Linked DNA regions of Homo sapiens: all the other regions are linked to region 1. Evidence: promoter capture Hi-C in 16 types of primary human blood cells and fetal thymus (Javierre and others, 2016). All regions are on one chromosome and are shown on one strand. The core of a region is centred on a gene start or on the middle of the fragment in contact, and the rest is flanking DNA. Distances in the headings are between cores, read along the strand shown.

Region 1 (3,764 bases), core at 896-3,395:
TCTTTTGGTTTGTTGAAAATCTGTTCTTAGTGTTAACTTGGCAAAGTCAGGCAGCAAGCAACACCTACCAGAGCAACTACAGAAGGTAAAGTAAGGAATTTTGGAGAGAAGAAAACAGAAAAATGCTGGTATCTGCTGGTCTTGTGGCTTTCAAATATGGAACTGGCAGCTAAGCTTGTTCGGTAACTACAGTCCCAAGATGGCCCCTAAAGAAGTCTATCTCCCAAGATGAGTCCTAGGGTGATCCCCTTCTACATTGACTCTGGGCTGACCTGGGTCTTGCTTTAACCAGTAGAATGAGGCAGAAGGAATGCTGTGCCACTTCTAGACCTAAGTCTTAGGAAGCCTGATAGCTTCCACTTCTATGCTTTTGGGAGCCTTGGGCCAATATGCAAGAAGTCTGGATACCCTGCTGGAGAGATCCTGTAGAAAGGCCAGATGGAGAGAGACCCTGAGGCTACGTGAAGTGAGAGAGAAAGTCCCAGCAGAGCCAGCCTTTCGGCAATGCCCTGCCAAAGTGCCAGACACATAAGTGAGCCCAGTCATGCCCCAAGACGATTGAGGTCCCAGATGAGTTTTGGGGTGTTATACAACAATCTGTAACTAAAATAGCTTATTTAGAAATTTAAAAAAATAACTAATCAGGCTGTCTTGAATTTATTTCAGCTGACTTTCTGAGTTATTTGGAAGAAAATCCTCTAAAGTAGTTTCAAATTAAAAGACACTTTAAACAAAACTCACCGTAGTCTTGCTTTTTCATTTGAATTTACTCATTTTGGCCCTGTGACTTGTAAACTAAACTCATATTTCTACTACTGCAAAGTTAAGTGTTTTGTTTATGATTTTTAGAAGTTGTCATCTATTGATTTTTTTCTTCTGTTTGTAAAGGTGAATGAACTATCCCAATGCTTACCTGTACCAGTGACTTTGCTTAATCTAAGATGTTGATCATTCTTTATGAAGGCTGAAAATGTTATCTAGAGGTGAAATTTACAATGGAACTAAAAATGAGTGGCTAATGGAATAAAGGCCTGACATTTTTCTACCAATTTTTTTTTTTAAAATTTTGGGTGATATTCTTAAGTAAACTTTTTGCTGTATTTCAGGGTTTGGAAGATAACTTGAACCCATATATGATAGGTAAACTAAAAAATCCCCTAAATTTCTTAATCTTTGTTTCTAAAATATTTGTTTGTAAATTTGTTTAAAGACTTGAGACCTTAATTACTTGCTGAAGGTGATTGTTACTTTAAAACTAAGTCTATGAAATTAGGATTTAGTCCTTATCTAAGTAGGCTCTCTTTCTCTTTTTTAAATACTTAAATATTACAAGCTTTGTAATGGAAAGAAATGTTTCTCATCTTATAGTACAGAAGCAAAAATCTTAGTGGAGAATCGTTACCAATTTGGGGAATTTCAATGGTCATAATTTATATCATTGTTTCTGAATGCCATGTTCACACACTCAGATGATTTCTATTTATAACAATCTGGTATAAAATGGAACTCGTTAAAAAGATGATAGAAACCTTTTAGAAATATCTCTAGAAAGTGTACATGCTAATAAATCTTACTTAAAGATTTTTCATTTTAAAGATGTTATTTAAATTATCTCTGTAAATAACTCCAATAATATCTTTGAAGGGTATTTGGAATGGTTCCTTCCTGAAGATTGTAAGAGGTTAGAGTGCACCATTTTATGGTATGTTGACCCCATGTTAATGATAGGAACCTCACAATTTATATAAAAATCAAATGCATCAATCAACACTTACTTAATGGCAATTTAACAATATAATCACAGTATTTCCCCCTGTAGTCCCAGTCACACTGCAGTAGAAGCTAAATTCCTTCCCCAATAGATGCTGCATCGAAAAGGAAATACTGTACCTCAGAGAGGCCGGGACAGGAATTGGGTAGACATGGACTGTCTCCTTATTCTGGAAGGTGCCTGTCTGTATGAAATCATTACCTGGATCCTTGTTGAGAGCACCGTCTCTATCTGATTTCTGGTGAGGATCTTTTCATAGTTTGCCCTGATCTCATTGAGTAGCTGGGACAGTTCCATTCTTTTCCCATCCTCCACCTTGGCTAACTGAACCTTATCGATAGGATGAGTCGCTGCGGCAGTCTGCTCGGTCTGCGCGGAAGGCAGGGAGCCTCGCAGAGTTTTAAAGATGCAGAGCTCCTTTTTCGGAGGCCACGGAAATTCTCATCTTTCTAACTAATTATGCAAATACAGGGTAAACTCTTTGCTCCTATTGTTATTGGTATAGTAGAAATGTCAGATTCTTCATGAAGGAAAGGAAAATTTCAAAAACCTGTACTGGTTCCCTGTAAAAATTGAGCACTTTGAGGGGAGGGGGAGTTCATTTTTGTGAAAAGGAAATGGGGCATAACATAAGAAAATTGCCGGGCATGGTGGCTCATGCCTGTAATCCCAGCACTTTAGGAGGTTGAGGTGGGTGGATCACCTGAGGTCGGGAGTTCGAGATCAGCCTGGCCAACATGATGAAACCCTGTCTTTACTAAAAATACAAAAATTAGCTGGGCGTGGTGGTGGGTGCCTGTAATCCCAGCTACTCGGGAGGCTGAGGCAGGAGAATTGCTTGAACCCAGGAGGTGGAGGTTGCAGTGAGCCGAGATTGAGCCACTGCACTCCAGCCTGGGTGACAGAGTGAGACTCCATCTCCAAAAAAAAAAAAAAAAAAAAAAAAGAAAATTATATTTAGTTTTCTCAAAATGTTGCAGATAAGTGCTGGTAGACTATGAGAGTTGTGAGTTAACATTTCCAAAGTTTTAACAAGGATGAAGAAATAGACCTTTTGGTGTATTCACCAAAAGAACCCTTGAGTCCTTTGGAGGGTGTAGTCAGTGTACCATTCCATCCAATCGTTGCAATCACTTGAGCCCTTCGGAGGGTGTATTTGGCGTATCATTCCATCCAATCCTTGCAATCCCTGACATTTTCTAACCTGTAAAGATGAAAAGACTGAGGCCAGAGAGGTTGAGGCATCTTGCCCAAGGTTGCTCAGTGATGTATGACATCACTGGGACTGGCTCTTTGACAACTTGCTTGTGTTCCATGTATTACCCCTGCATATCTGCCTCTGCGTTCTCTCTCTCCCCTTCTAAATTCCTGGTTTAATCTTGCCAGCTGGTTGCTAGATGTGACAGAAATATGTCGTGAGAGTGGATCTATCATTATTGTTATTTGTGGAGTGGCTTTGGCTGAATTGTATCTGGAGCACAGTTCAGGAGATAATCAGACCTGGGTTCTAGCCCTTACAGGGCCTTTGCATGCATGTCCTGCTCTTTTAATTTCTGAATTAACTCACATCTGGCCAGGCCAGTCTATGCTGGGCATTCTCACAGCCCTCTCCAAACAAAGCTGTCCTACCCACAGCTCCTGGTGAGAGGAGAGGTTCCAGGTTATTTCTGACCCACCCCTCCCTACCTCCTGCACCTTCCCCATCAGTCACAACTTGATTATCTATAGATTGGTCAGAGACCTTTGGAGTAGGCTGAGACAGAAAGCTCTGACTAAAGAGAGTCATTAATGATTATCTAGGCCAAACTGATTCTCTTTCTTGGTAACTGGGACTGAGAAATATGAAGAGAATTAGGCTTGGGAGTGGAGGAGAGAGAAGAAAGCAATGAATTAAATTCCTAAATTAAATTCAGGGAGCAATGAATTAAATGCTTCCTGCTACTTTAGGTAGCTCCTGCTAATATCCGCCTGAAACACAGAGAGCTGAACTAGA
Region 2 (3,764 bases), core at 444-2,943, 990 kb after region 1:
CCAAACCACAGACTGCCTGGGGCCTCGGCCTCCAGCTCTCCAACTGCAGAGGCAAGAGCAGAGTGTGAGGAGGGGGTGAGGAGTGGGCACCCCAATTGCCCTGGCCACTGTGGGAGCTTGGGCTCTAGCAGGCTGATCTCCCCCAGCCTGCACCCCACCCAGCAAGGACATGCAAGCCAAGCAGTTCCCACACCCCGTTCCTGGTGGCTGCCAGAAGCTTCCTTACAAGGCCCCAGCGCTGAGCTGGCTCAGCTGCAGGCGGGGGCCTGGGTGGGGCACAGCACACCTGGCTCAGCCAAGCCCAGACGCACCCTGCAAGTGAGGAATGCGGACGCCGCCCGGGCTGGCCCTGGGAAAGCTGCTGCCCTCGGCTCCTGCCCAGCCCTGACTCAGCCTAGGTGGGCCAGGGAAGCTGCAGCCTCAGCAGAACCAAGTCTCCCACCCCACCCTCCCCGCTGGCCTGCCTGGGATTGAACCAGGGGACAGGTCCTGGCAGGGGACTGAGAGTAGAGACAGCACCCCCTGGCCTCAGGACTTGGGGGAACAGCAGGGACTCTGTGGGACCTGCCCTTCTCCTGCACTGTCTGGAGGGTGCCAGCACAGCTCTGTCCGGGGGGGCTGCCCACAGCACATTTTCCCAGATGCCTGAGCCTCAGTTTCCTCATCCGTAAAAGGGGGCTAGTGACATTCCTGCCCACAGTGCAGGGCTGCAGTGGTGGAGGAGGTTCCCGGGAAGCATTTGAGAAGCAAACAGACCTCTTCCTAAGAAACAGAAGCGTCTGCCTAACCCCATGAGGCCAGGTGATCCCGTGCTCCATGCAGAAGAAACAGAAGCGTCTGCCCAGCCCCGTGAGGCCGGGTGGTCCCGTGCTCCATGCAGAGCAGGGTGACTCCATCATCCTCTGTCCCTGGCCCCAATACGGTTATTCCAAACTCCCCAGGACAAGGGCTGTGTCTCCCCCTCCGACTAGGCGGTCCCTGAAGGCTCGGGGCATGTCTCCCCTCAGACAAGAGGCTTCCCAGGGACAGAAACTCCATCCTCCTTGCTCCATCGCCCCACAGTCCCATGCCCTGCACTGCGGAAACCACAGGCCAGTGAAGGCCAGAAAAACTGCCCGTCCCCTCCTGGCGCCACCTTACCCCAGCCTCCCCAGGCCCTGACATCCACCTCCTTGCCCACCCAGCCAGCCCCCAAACGCGACGCTGGAGTGCCTCACGGTGCCCACCCAGACCCTGGGGATCAGGAGGCAGAGCCCCCCAGGTCTGGCGCTGGTAGAATCTCCCATCCCTCCCTGCCTGCAAAGAAAGGGCCCACTGGCCTCCCTCCCTGAGCCCTCCCACAGCTGGGCTGGCCAGAGAGAACTTTCTCCCTCTGCTCTCTTTCTCTGCTGTAGTTCAAGCACAGACCCTCTCACCCCAGCCAGCCCTTCTCCACCTTCCGGGCGCACAGTCTTAGGGGTGGAGCAGAGGCTGAGGTTGGGGGCCTCACAGTCAAAGGTGCTGAGACAACAGCCCCGCTGCCCTGTGCTCACTCAGAAGCTCCTGGGGAACTGGAGTGGAGGGGAAGGGTCCCCAAGCCCACAGGTTCTGGCTGCCCCTGCCACGTCCCCTCCCCCAGCCAGGCTTCTCCCAACTGCGGCAGGGCGTCTGGGCTCAGGTTGGGGTGCAGCGTTGGCAGGACAAACAGTCTCCAGTGTTGGGTGTTTGCCTCGGTTACCAAGGAGGGAGGTGAGGGGCCTGGCTCCCTGCCATGTTTGGGCCCCGGGCTGAAGGTGTGGGTGGCAGGGAAGGTGGAGGATTTGAGGTGGGGAGGCTCACTTCCCGCTCCCAGGGCTCGAGGGCAGGGCAAGCCAGCTGGGACTGCCAGATCCCTGGGCGGATTCAGACCTGCATCGGCCCTGCCTTTCTGCTGGCTCTGGGAAACTCAGTCAGGCAGGAGGAGACGCTGGGGGCGGGGCAGCCTCCCTTGCTGCTCAAAGCAGGGCTGTGGGCTGGAGGCTGGGCCCCGGCAAGTCAGGTACTGCCGTGGGTGTCCCAACCTTCCGGGACTGACGGCACCACGGCCTAACTCAGGCCGCCCGGGAGAGAGGCCTAGGAGCCCAGCTCTGGGCCCATGAATTTGGACAAGTCACCGCCCCTCTCTGGGCCCCAGTTTCCCCACCTATATAGTGTCAGGAGCTGGCCTGTGTAGTCCCACAGGGGCCTCCTTTGTTTTGTCCTCCCTGTCATGAGCTGGGCAGGTGGATGCTGAGGGGTTGAGGAGTTGGGCACTGAGCCGGGAGTTGTGACCCGGCCTTGAAGCCCTGGCTGGAAGGGCTCAGTACACATCCAGGCGGCCCTACTGCCCTGTCTGAGGCTGGCATGCAGTGAGTGCCCGGCTGAGTGCAGGAGCCCAGGGCTGTGGTCAGGAATGGCCGGGCCCTTTCTCCCTCTCTCAGCAATGATGAGAGCCACAGCCCAAGGAATCCCCTGCTGCCTCCTGCTCCCAGGTCTCCATCGCAGCCTCAGCATGACCGGCTCTGAGCAGGAAGTAGGGGAAGCAGGACAGAGGCTGGCCTGGCAGTCAGAGAGTGCACAGCCTGGCTCAGGAGGCTGGCAGGTCATCAGGGGCATAGAGCTGGCCCTCGTTGATGGGGCAGGGATGGCTTGGGGAGGGTGGAGACGCCGAGGCTTGAATTAGGGGGTGGGGGGTGCAGGTAGGGAAGAAAGGAAGAGGACTTGAGATTGTGACCAGGCAGTGCCACAAGGAACACAGGAGTGTGGGCCTTCCATGGGGAGGGAGGAAGGTGAGGCCAAAAGATGGCGGGGCAGGGGAAGGGACCACTTGCCTTGCAGCCCGGCCAGAGAGAGCGAGAATGAGCAGTTCCCACACCATGAAGACCTTTGCCCTGGCCCTGCTGGTGGCCCTGCTGTGCACAGAGAGACCCCAAGGTCTATGCTGCCACCAGTGCTTGGTGGCCCCAGCCTGGCACAGGCATGCCTGCCCCGCTGCCACATGCCCCTTCCCTGACAGGGTCTGCGTCTCGGGATATGAGAGACACAGGGAGTCTGGGTCCCTGTGGCATCTGGGAAAGTGAGAGTGGGGAACAGGCTCTGCCTCCTTTCCCTCCTGCCCCAAGAATGATACCATCATTTGGAATGTGGAGGTTCTGGACACCTCTATGAGTTCCAAGCTTTCTTGTTGCAAGAGAGGCCTCTGTAATGCGGGGGTCCTGGTGGCAGGCAGCACCTGGGCCCTTCCTTGGGACTCCTGCTCAGCCTGGGTCAGTTCCCCTCTGGGCCCTGCTGTGATGGCCTTTCCTGTCCCCCTTACCCCATGGCCCCCTCCTCTGTCCCCATGCATAGTGTCCTCCTCAGTTTGGGACCACTTCGGCACTGACCCTCGGGAATTCCAGTGTGGTTTTGCAGCCGCGCGTTCAGGGGAAGGATGTGGTGGGGCAGAGGCGGGGGCTTCCCTGTCAGGGGACTCTGGCACCGGGCGGGTCCCTGCGGCAGACTTGGAATCCCTGCTTGGACTCATCCTGTTACCTGGGCCCAGGGCCTTCAAACCCACATTCCCTACATCGCCACCTCCTTAAACCACCCGGCCTCAGAGCCAGGGGCCTTGCCATTTGCTGTTCTGAACCTGGAACCACAGGAAGAACACAGGCCAGGGGCAGGAGTCCAGGGTTCCGTCCTACCCAGCCATTAACTTAACACGGAGCCAGGGCCACACAACGCACCACTCCGGACCACCTCTGTTCAAGCAAGGAAGAAACCCAGGG
Region 3 (3,764 bases), core at 707-3,206, 790 kb after region 1:
GACATCTAGTGAGCTCTTAATAAAGGTGCTCTATTCTTTTTAGATAAAATAGAAATAATAATATCCACCTTAGAGGATTGCTGAAATGGTTCAAAGAAAAAAGGTATGTGAAAATTCCCAGTTCAGGTTTGACATTTAGTAGAATCAAGGATGATTTCAGAAATATTATAACCACTGTTGGCAGCAATCTAAAAGGAGATGTGGAAACGGCCACAGAGACAGACTGCTACATCCCAGCTGAATATCAGCACTTAATGGAAAATACTAAATAAATGTGATTAATTTTTTAAAAATGAAGTTAGGTTGTTCATCCTTTCCACCATCTTGTACAGAACAGGAACTCCAAAACAAATAGAAAGATGAGAATGCCACAAGAGACGTTCAGATATGCGGCTGTGGGTTATTCCATGGAAGGCAAAATCCATCCCAGGGGGATTAGCTTCTAGAGAGGATTCCAGGAGGTGGGGAATATCACCTGGGTTTTGAAGCCCAACTAGAATTTGGCCATGCAAAGATGAGAAAGAAAGCACTACACATGTGAACAAACATTTTGTGAGTGACAACGCAGTTTGACAGAAGCATAGGGCAAGTGACAAAGCAGTTTGATAGAAGCACAGGATGTTTGCAGAAGATTAGAAAGAGGTAAGCTACAAAAAAAAGTGAGGCTGAGAACATGGCAGCCTTGAATGCCAGGCTAAAGAGCTGAGGCTTCATTTTGTAGGCACTGTCTGCTCCCCAGCACCCAGCGATGCAATCACTCATTGCTGGTGCTCAATAACTAGTGAGTGAATGGTGGCATGTCCTTAAATAAGGCAGGATCTGGATTGTGAAGAAATAAATCCATATCCCACTCACAGTCCTCTCATTGCAGACATCAGCAATGATGCTTGTTGAATGGAACTGGTTGTAGAACCAAGTGGTTGGGCCCTTGACATCACAGTTTATTTCTGGCACCTTCAATCCATCTTTATGAACATTCATGGACTGTCATCCCCCCAGGCAACCCCTCCAATTCTCCCATCACCAATCCTCAGCCCTCTCTTTCCATGCCACTGACACCAGAGCTCAAGGCCTCATCTTACTTTTTGTTGGAGCTCCTTAATGGTCTCAAAGTGTGAGCAGTAATTGGAGCATATGTCAGGGCACTGCCGTTTGCTCCACTGCTGGCTCTCAGCACCACCCCTGCTTCTCATTCTCCTGCTCCAACTGCTGCAACTTCTGCAAGCAGTTGGCCAGGCACTCACTTAAGAACTGCATGATCCCTTTCCCACTGCTGCTGAGGATGTCTTCACTGAACCAGCCACAGGTGCCCATACTGGCAGGGATGTTCCTGGTCCCTGGCAGAGGACAGGCAGAGTGACTGCTGGCAGGGCCAGGCTGGACTGACTGTGAGCCACAGGTTCTAAGGAGATGGCTACTAGGTTGGTGACTCTCTTACAGGTGGGCCCCAGTCTTAATACTGGGATCTACAGACATTGGGTACAGAGTTTCTAGAGTGGTTTCTGGCCACAGCCTGTCTGGAGCAAGGAGGCTTCAAATGGCTCTTGCCAAAGCTTGAGGAGCAGGGATTTCTGCTTTAACTAGAAGCCATGGTCCTAGACAGTTGAGTTGCAGATTGGTGACAAGGGCCAGGTGCTCAGGTGTGAGTGTTTCCTCACCCAGAGCTTTTATTCACCTGCCATAGGAGCAGATGTGATACACAAGCTTTCCCCCAATGAATCCTCATTTGTTCTGCCATCAGAACAACCCATCAGCAGTTATTCAGTCCTCAGAAGTAGCTCCCCACTTTATGAAAGAAAGGGCTGACTTTGGACTTCTTGTTACTGCCTTCTGTTGTGAAAAGAAATGTTAAATGTTTTCTCTTTAGAGATGCCCCATTGAAAAGTTAGACTTTGTTCCTTGAGTGACTATCTGGCCTCTCTCTAGGAATGGCATTGGCTCTAAGATGAATCGTCCTCTCCACTGACCTTCAATACCCAAAAAAGTAAAATTCTCTGATAAGAGCCTCAGGAATCCCTAAAGAGCAATAGAGCAAAGACTGCTAAGTTATTAGAACTAAAGAAAACTTCCAAGTACTAATTCAACCTTTCGTGCTTCAGAGACCAGAGAAGGACAGTGAGCTCCCCAGGGATGCCAAGCAAGTCAGATACAGAGCCAGGACTGGTCCCAGGGCCCCTAGCACATTCTGTTTCCTCTGCACCAAGATGGACAAGCTTTTTCTGTTAAAAAGACAGATGCTAAATATTTTAGGCTTTGCAAGTCGTATACTCTCTTTGTACTGCAACTACTTAGCTCTGCCATTGTAGCACAAAGCAGACATAGACAACAGGGAAATGAATGGGTGTGGCTATGCTCCAATAAAACTTGATTTACCAAAACAAGTAGCAGTGGGGTTTGACCTGTGAGCTGTAGTTGCCATCCCTGCTTCACACAGCACAGTGAATGAGGCTTAAAAATTGGACCCCTTAAGCATGTGGGAGACCTTCAGTCCGCTCTGGAGCCAGAGGGCTGGGCAGAGGGAGGGCACCTGGGAATGGATGGTGAACTCCAGGACTGGACGCTGAGCCTCAGACACCAGGGCCTTCACTCTACCAGGGCATTTACACCAAGACTGGAAGTTCATCCAATGCTCTTAGAGCAAAGCAAAGCTACCCATATGTTGTTGTTGCTGCTGCTGCTGCTGCTGTTGTTGTTTCTGAAACTTGGGCTTCAGAATGGCTCCAAAATATGACTCAGCTGCCATTGTAATTGGGGAAAGTCAGAAGAGAAGAGAAATTTGTTGCCAAAGCATGTTTTCTTTACTCAACATTCATCAGGCACCTACAATATGCCAGGCATCATGACAGGCATTTTTATATGTACTATATCCCAACAACTCTGTGAAAAAGGTAGAATTACTCCCATTTCTAAAGGGGAGAAGACTGAGATGCATAGAGATTAAGAGTTCTGCCAAAATCACACAGCACATTAGCAGCAGAACTGGGGGTCTAGCCCAGTTTTTCTGAAGCCAAAGGCACTGATCTTCTCCATTAATCCTAGATGCTCATTGGTGACTTTGTTTACATATTATGATTAAGGGACACTGCTATTTAAATACAAATTTGTCTTGATCAGTTGGGCAAAAAGATAGACATCAAATGATCTTAGGAACTTTCTGTTTAGCCGAATTGATATCATTGCATTCAAGTGTTACATTTTATGAAATACAGGCCGGGTGCAGTGGCTCACGCCTGTAATCCCAGCAGTTTGGAAGGCCAAGGTGGGTGAATCACCTGAGGTCAAGAGTTCGAGACCAGCCTGGCCAACATGGTGAAACCCCATTTCTACTAAAAATACAAAAATTAGCCAGGCATGGTGGCATGTGCCTGTGGTCCTAGCTACTCAGGAGGCTGAGGCACAAGAATCACTTGAACCCAGGAGGCAGAGGTTGCAGTGAGCCAAGATCATGCCACTGCACTCCAGCCTGGGCTACGGGGCGAGACTCTCTCTCCAAAAGAAAAAAAAATTATGAAATACAAAAAGAATATTGTTTTATTATTAATGATTTTCCTGGTTATACCCTGGAAGAGGCATATTCTTTTTTTGATCACTCTCTAAAAGGTTTCCTAATATAGTGGTGAAGAAAGATTCAGTCAGTGCAATTCAGAGTCCACACACAGCCCCAACTCCCAGATGCCAAACCCAACTCCTGGATCTTTCGGGAAGCTGTCGCCCTCTGGCCAGTCTTCCTTGAATGGCAGTTCTGCCCATGGGCCCTCACTCTC
Region 4 (3,764 bases), core at 398-2,897, 720 kb after region 1:
TTGTTTCACTCTGTCTTGTTTATATCACTGTGTTTATATGACTGTCTTTCTATACTAGACTGTGAGCTCTTTTAAGAAAAGGGCCATGTCTTATTTCTTTTTTGTCCCTCCATCTCCACCACCAAATTCAGGACCTAGCAGTGATCAGCAGAGAGCAGGGCTCAATGAATGATGTCCCTCCTCAGTAATTCCAACACCTGCCTAACCCTCACCCAGCCGCTGAAGAATGAGCAGCTCACTCCACTCCTTGATATGGATGTAGCACCGTCACTCTCTGAGAACATCTTGAGTTCCTCAGAGAAGGGTCCCAGACCAGGGATCCAGACAGTAATCCTCTCCTGATTCCCAGTGCTAGTAGCTTAGTTCTGAGGCCTGCTTTTGTGAATTTGTTTCATACCTCCTCATGGTTCTTCTTCAAGCAGATCAGCTCCTCCCTCAGGGACTCCACCTGGGACTCCAGGTCAGACTTGCAGAGGGTCAGCTCATCCAGGATCCTGCGTATGCTGTTGATGTCCGACTCCACCAACAGCCTCAGGGACTGCTCCGTCTGGTACCTGCACGTGTCGGAGTGGGAGGATAAGTCAGGAAAGAAAACCACCTTCCCCTCTCATGTGTTGTTTGGGTAGAATTGGCCTGAATCTTCTTGAACTTACAGTTTTCTGCCTCTTCTCTTCCATATGCTTCAGTCAAGCTGTCCATGGATAGGCTGAAGAGGTTCCCTGACTCACCTAACACCACGAGGAGCCCACAGGCACACATGAGATGAAGTCTCTCACTGTGTTCTCGGTTTTGTTAGCTAATATACCACCAAATCAATTCCCAAAGAACAATTCATTTCAATCTCTGAATTTTGTGGTTTAAGAAACACTTCCAAAAAAAACCAGTATAGACCAAAGAGCAGGCAGCACATGAGTCTAGTTCCCTATTTGAAACTAATTTTACATAACCAGCCCTAGGAGGAGAAATAGAGAGAAATGGCTTTCTCCTCTCTTCCAGGCAATAGTAGGTCCCTAGGGCCATGAAAGAACCATAGGGACCTTGAAGTTCAACATACTTGCTTCTGAAGTCGTCAGAGGCCAGCTTGGCATTGTCAATGTTCACCACCAGCCTGGCATTCTCAGCCTTGGCACACAGAATCTGAAAAGAAATTTCTCTCATGAGGTACACTTGAACTTGAAAATGTCTTACTGTTCAAAGAGAGCCAGCTGCTGCTGGCCCCCCATATGGCCAACCCCCTCACCTTCTGCTGGAGCTCCTCAATGGTCTTGAAGTAGGACTGGTAGCTGGGGCACAGCAAGGGCTCCTGCTGCTGGGACCGCTCCTGGATGAGTTTCTCCAGCTCCGCGTTGTCCCGCTCCAGCTGACGCACCTTCTCCAGGTAGCTGGCCAGGCGGTCGTTCAGGAACTGCATAGTCTCCTTCTCGCTGCCATTGAAGGAGCCCTCACAGAACCAGTTGCAGTTGCTCACATTGGCGGGGATGTTGCAGGCCCCAGGCAGGGTGTAGCCGTGGCAGCTGGGGGGCACGCAGGGCCGGGAGGAGCAGCTGGTGCGGCAGCCCAGGCTGGGCAGGCAACAACTGTAAGACATGGTGCTGGAACAGGTAATGGAAAAGCAGGTAAGCTGCTGGAGGTGGATGTGGGCAGGTTTGAGTCTCTCCTTCCTCTGCAGTCCTTTTATACCATTAATTGTGGGTGGGGGCTTGGCATACAGCATAGTTTCCTTTCCTAATGCTTCAGCTAATTTTTCTCCAAAATATGCTAGTTAGATGCTTCTAAAGAGTCCCCCCTCAACCCATAAAATTATTCCATTCAGCTTATGTCACACCAGGCTCTTCCTGGGTGCTAGTGGTTGGTGAAATCAGAGTTTCATCAGATGGCTTCATAGGAGATAGAATCATCACAGCCCCAAAAGGCTGTCTGCATTACTCAGAGGGGAGGACAGCCAGGGACATGGGGTGGAGTTGTTTGGGAATCAGGGATTCCTCACCCAGGAGTTTCCGCCACTGTTCTTTCTCCCCAGAGAGAGAGCTCTGAGAGAGAGCTTTGAGAGTTACTCTTCCAAGTAGCTCTTTCCTCCCACATTCATCCATGTTTCAGCATTCAATTTGTTTTTATAGCAGAAACTCAACCTGTATTCGCCGAAATGATCCTGAGCCTTACTATTCGTTGGGGTTTAGGGAACTTGCCAACACATGGAGCAACTGAAAACAATGGCATGTTCATGGTTGAGAAATGAGAAAGTAAAATGGAAACCAATGGAATGGATGGGAGTATACCTAAAAGAGGGCATCTGCAAATGGCAGCCCACACGTCAAGTTTACCCTGCTGAATTTTTGTAAATAAAGTTTTTGTTTGTTTGTTTTCTGTTTTTTTTTTTTTGAGACAGAGTCTCACTCTGTCGCCCAGGCTGGAGTGCAGTGGCACGATCTCGGCTCACTGCAACCTCCACCTCCCGGGTTCAAGCAATTATCTGCCTCAGCCCCCCGAGTAGCTGGGATTACAGGTGCCCGCCACCACACCCGGCTAATTTTTGTGTTTTTAGCAGAAATGGGGTTTCACCATGTTGGCCAGGCTGCTCTTGAACTCCTGAACTCGTGATCCGCCCGCCTCGGCCTCCCAAAGTGCTGGGATTACAGGCGTGAGCCAATGCGTCCGGCAGTAAATAAAGTTTTAATGGAACACAGCCATGCCCATTTGTTTAGCTATTGTATATGGCTGCTTTTGTGCTACAGTGGCAGAGTTGTGTAGTTGTGACAGAGACTATAGTGTCCACAAAGCCCTAAAATTAAAAAATTTGCCAACTTGTACTAAAGCAACAGCCTCTCTAAAGATGAGCAAGAGTAGAAATATCTAGAAGAAAAAATATGCTGGAAACAGTCTGGAGCAGTGAGAGTTCAGATGGCAGCACTGAAGCATGAATATGAAGCATAATACTGCAGACTCACCAAGAAACGAAAATTGGAGCAAGGGTGCTCAGAGGTATCTTTGTATCCATGGTGGCTTTTTCTCAAATTCTCTGGAAATTTCTATCATCTTATTTCTAGACTTGTTCCTCTTTCTAGAGTATTAACTCTCCTAGAGGTATGACTATGCCAGCCTGAGATGCTTCCAGGACAAGCCACAGTGCCCATGAGAATGCAGATTTACTCTGTTGTCCCTACAAGTAGACACTGTCTCTGATAAGTGTGCTTCTATCACCTCTGGGATCCAGTTACCCTTTGACTCTTGCATAACCTAGGGAGCCTCTCTATTGCCCAATAATCACTCTTCACAGAATAGCCTTCCCTACCTCACTTCTTTTCCCTGTCACTCTACCTTGCCTTTGTTCCGCAGGGAAACAAAGTCATGTTTCAGAAAGAAGTCCCAAAAGATTATTTGTGGAACACAATACAAATCATTTAAAGAAGGCTGCATCTGAATTTCAAAAGCAGCATGAGAGGAGCAGAAAAGCACATCTTCGATTTTATTTATTTGAGTGTTTCCTCTTTTTTTCTTAGTCTATCTAGAGGTTTGTAAATTTTCTGTGTCTTTCAAAAAAACTCTGTTTCATTGATTTTTTGCTATTGTTTTTCTAGTCTCTATTTTTATTTATTTCTGCTCTAAGTTTTATCGTAAGTATCATAATAAAATTTAGAGCAAAAAGTGTTATTATATCCTTCCTGCTGCTAACTTTGAGCTTAGTTTGTTCTTTATCTTTTTTAATTTTTTAATTTTTGTAGGTACATGGTAGGCGTGTGTGTATGTTTAGATATAGGTTTATGTAT

The links. Contacts are between HindIII fragments. The CHiCAGO score rates a contact against its expected background, and 5 or more counts as called.
Region 2: a contact is called between a fragment that was not itself captured here and the fragment with the promoter of KRT222 in region 1, in 2 of 17 cell types (total B cells and erythroblasts). The highest score is 5.4, in total B cells.
Region 3: a fragment that was not itself captured here is called in contact with the fragment with the promoter of KRT222 in region 1 in 1 of 17 cell types (M2 macrophages); the score reaches 5.9 in M2 macrophages.
Region 4: the fragment with the promoter of KRT34 here is called in contact with the fragment with the promoter of KRT222 in region 1 in 1 of 17 cell types (M0 macrophages); the score reaches 5.8 in M0 macrophages.

The regions. Positions count from the first base shown.
Region 1 is chr17:40,663,032-40,666,795 of GRCh38, forward strand. KRT222 (keratin 222) reads right to left here and starts at 2,146. Exons shown (of 6, transcript NM_152349.3): 1 at 1,973-2,146. The coding sequence starts at 2,068. The HindIII fragment of the contact is 3,418 bases long and covers 1,332-3,764 here.
Region 2 is chr17:41,653,991-41,657,754 of GRCh38, forward strand. LOC124904004 (a long non-coding RNA gene) reads right to left here and starts at 1,144. Exons shown (of 2, transcript XR_007065756.1): 1 at 1-1,144. RefSeq lists enhancers at 1-258, 259-955. The HindIII fragment of the contact is 2,956 bases long and covers 216-3,171 here.
Region 3 is chr17:41,452,685-41,456,448 of GRCh38, forward strand. No RefSeq gene overlaps it. Among named protein-coding and RNA genes, the nearest start is that of KRT32, 13 kb to the right of the region's middle. The HindIII fragment of the contact is 509 bases long and covers 1,703-2,211 here.
Region 4 is chr17:41,380,659-41,384,422 of GRCh38, forward strand. It overlaps KRT34 (keratin 34), which reads right to left and starts at 1,648. Exons shown (of 7, transcript NM_001386014.1): 1 at 1,241-1,648; 2 at 1,055-1,137; 3 at 398-554. The coding sequence starts at 1,588. RefSeq lists an enhancer at 641-1,840. The HindIII fragment of the contact is 8,651 bases long and covers 1-3,764 here.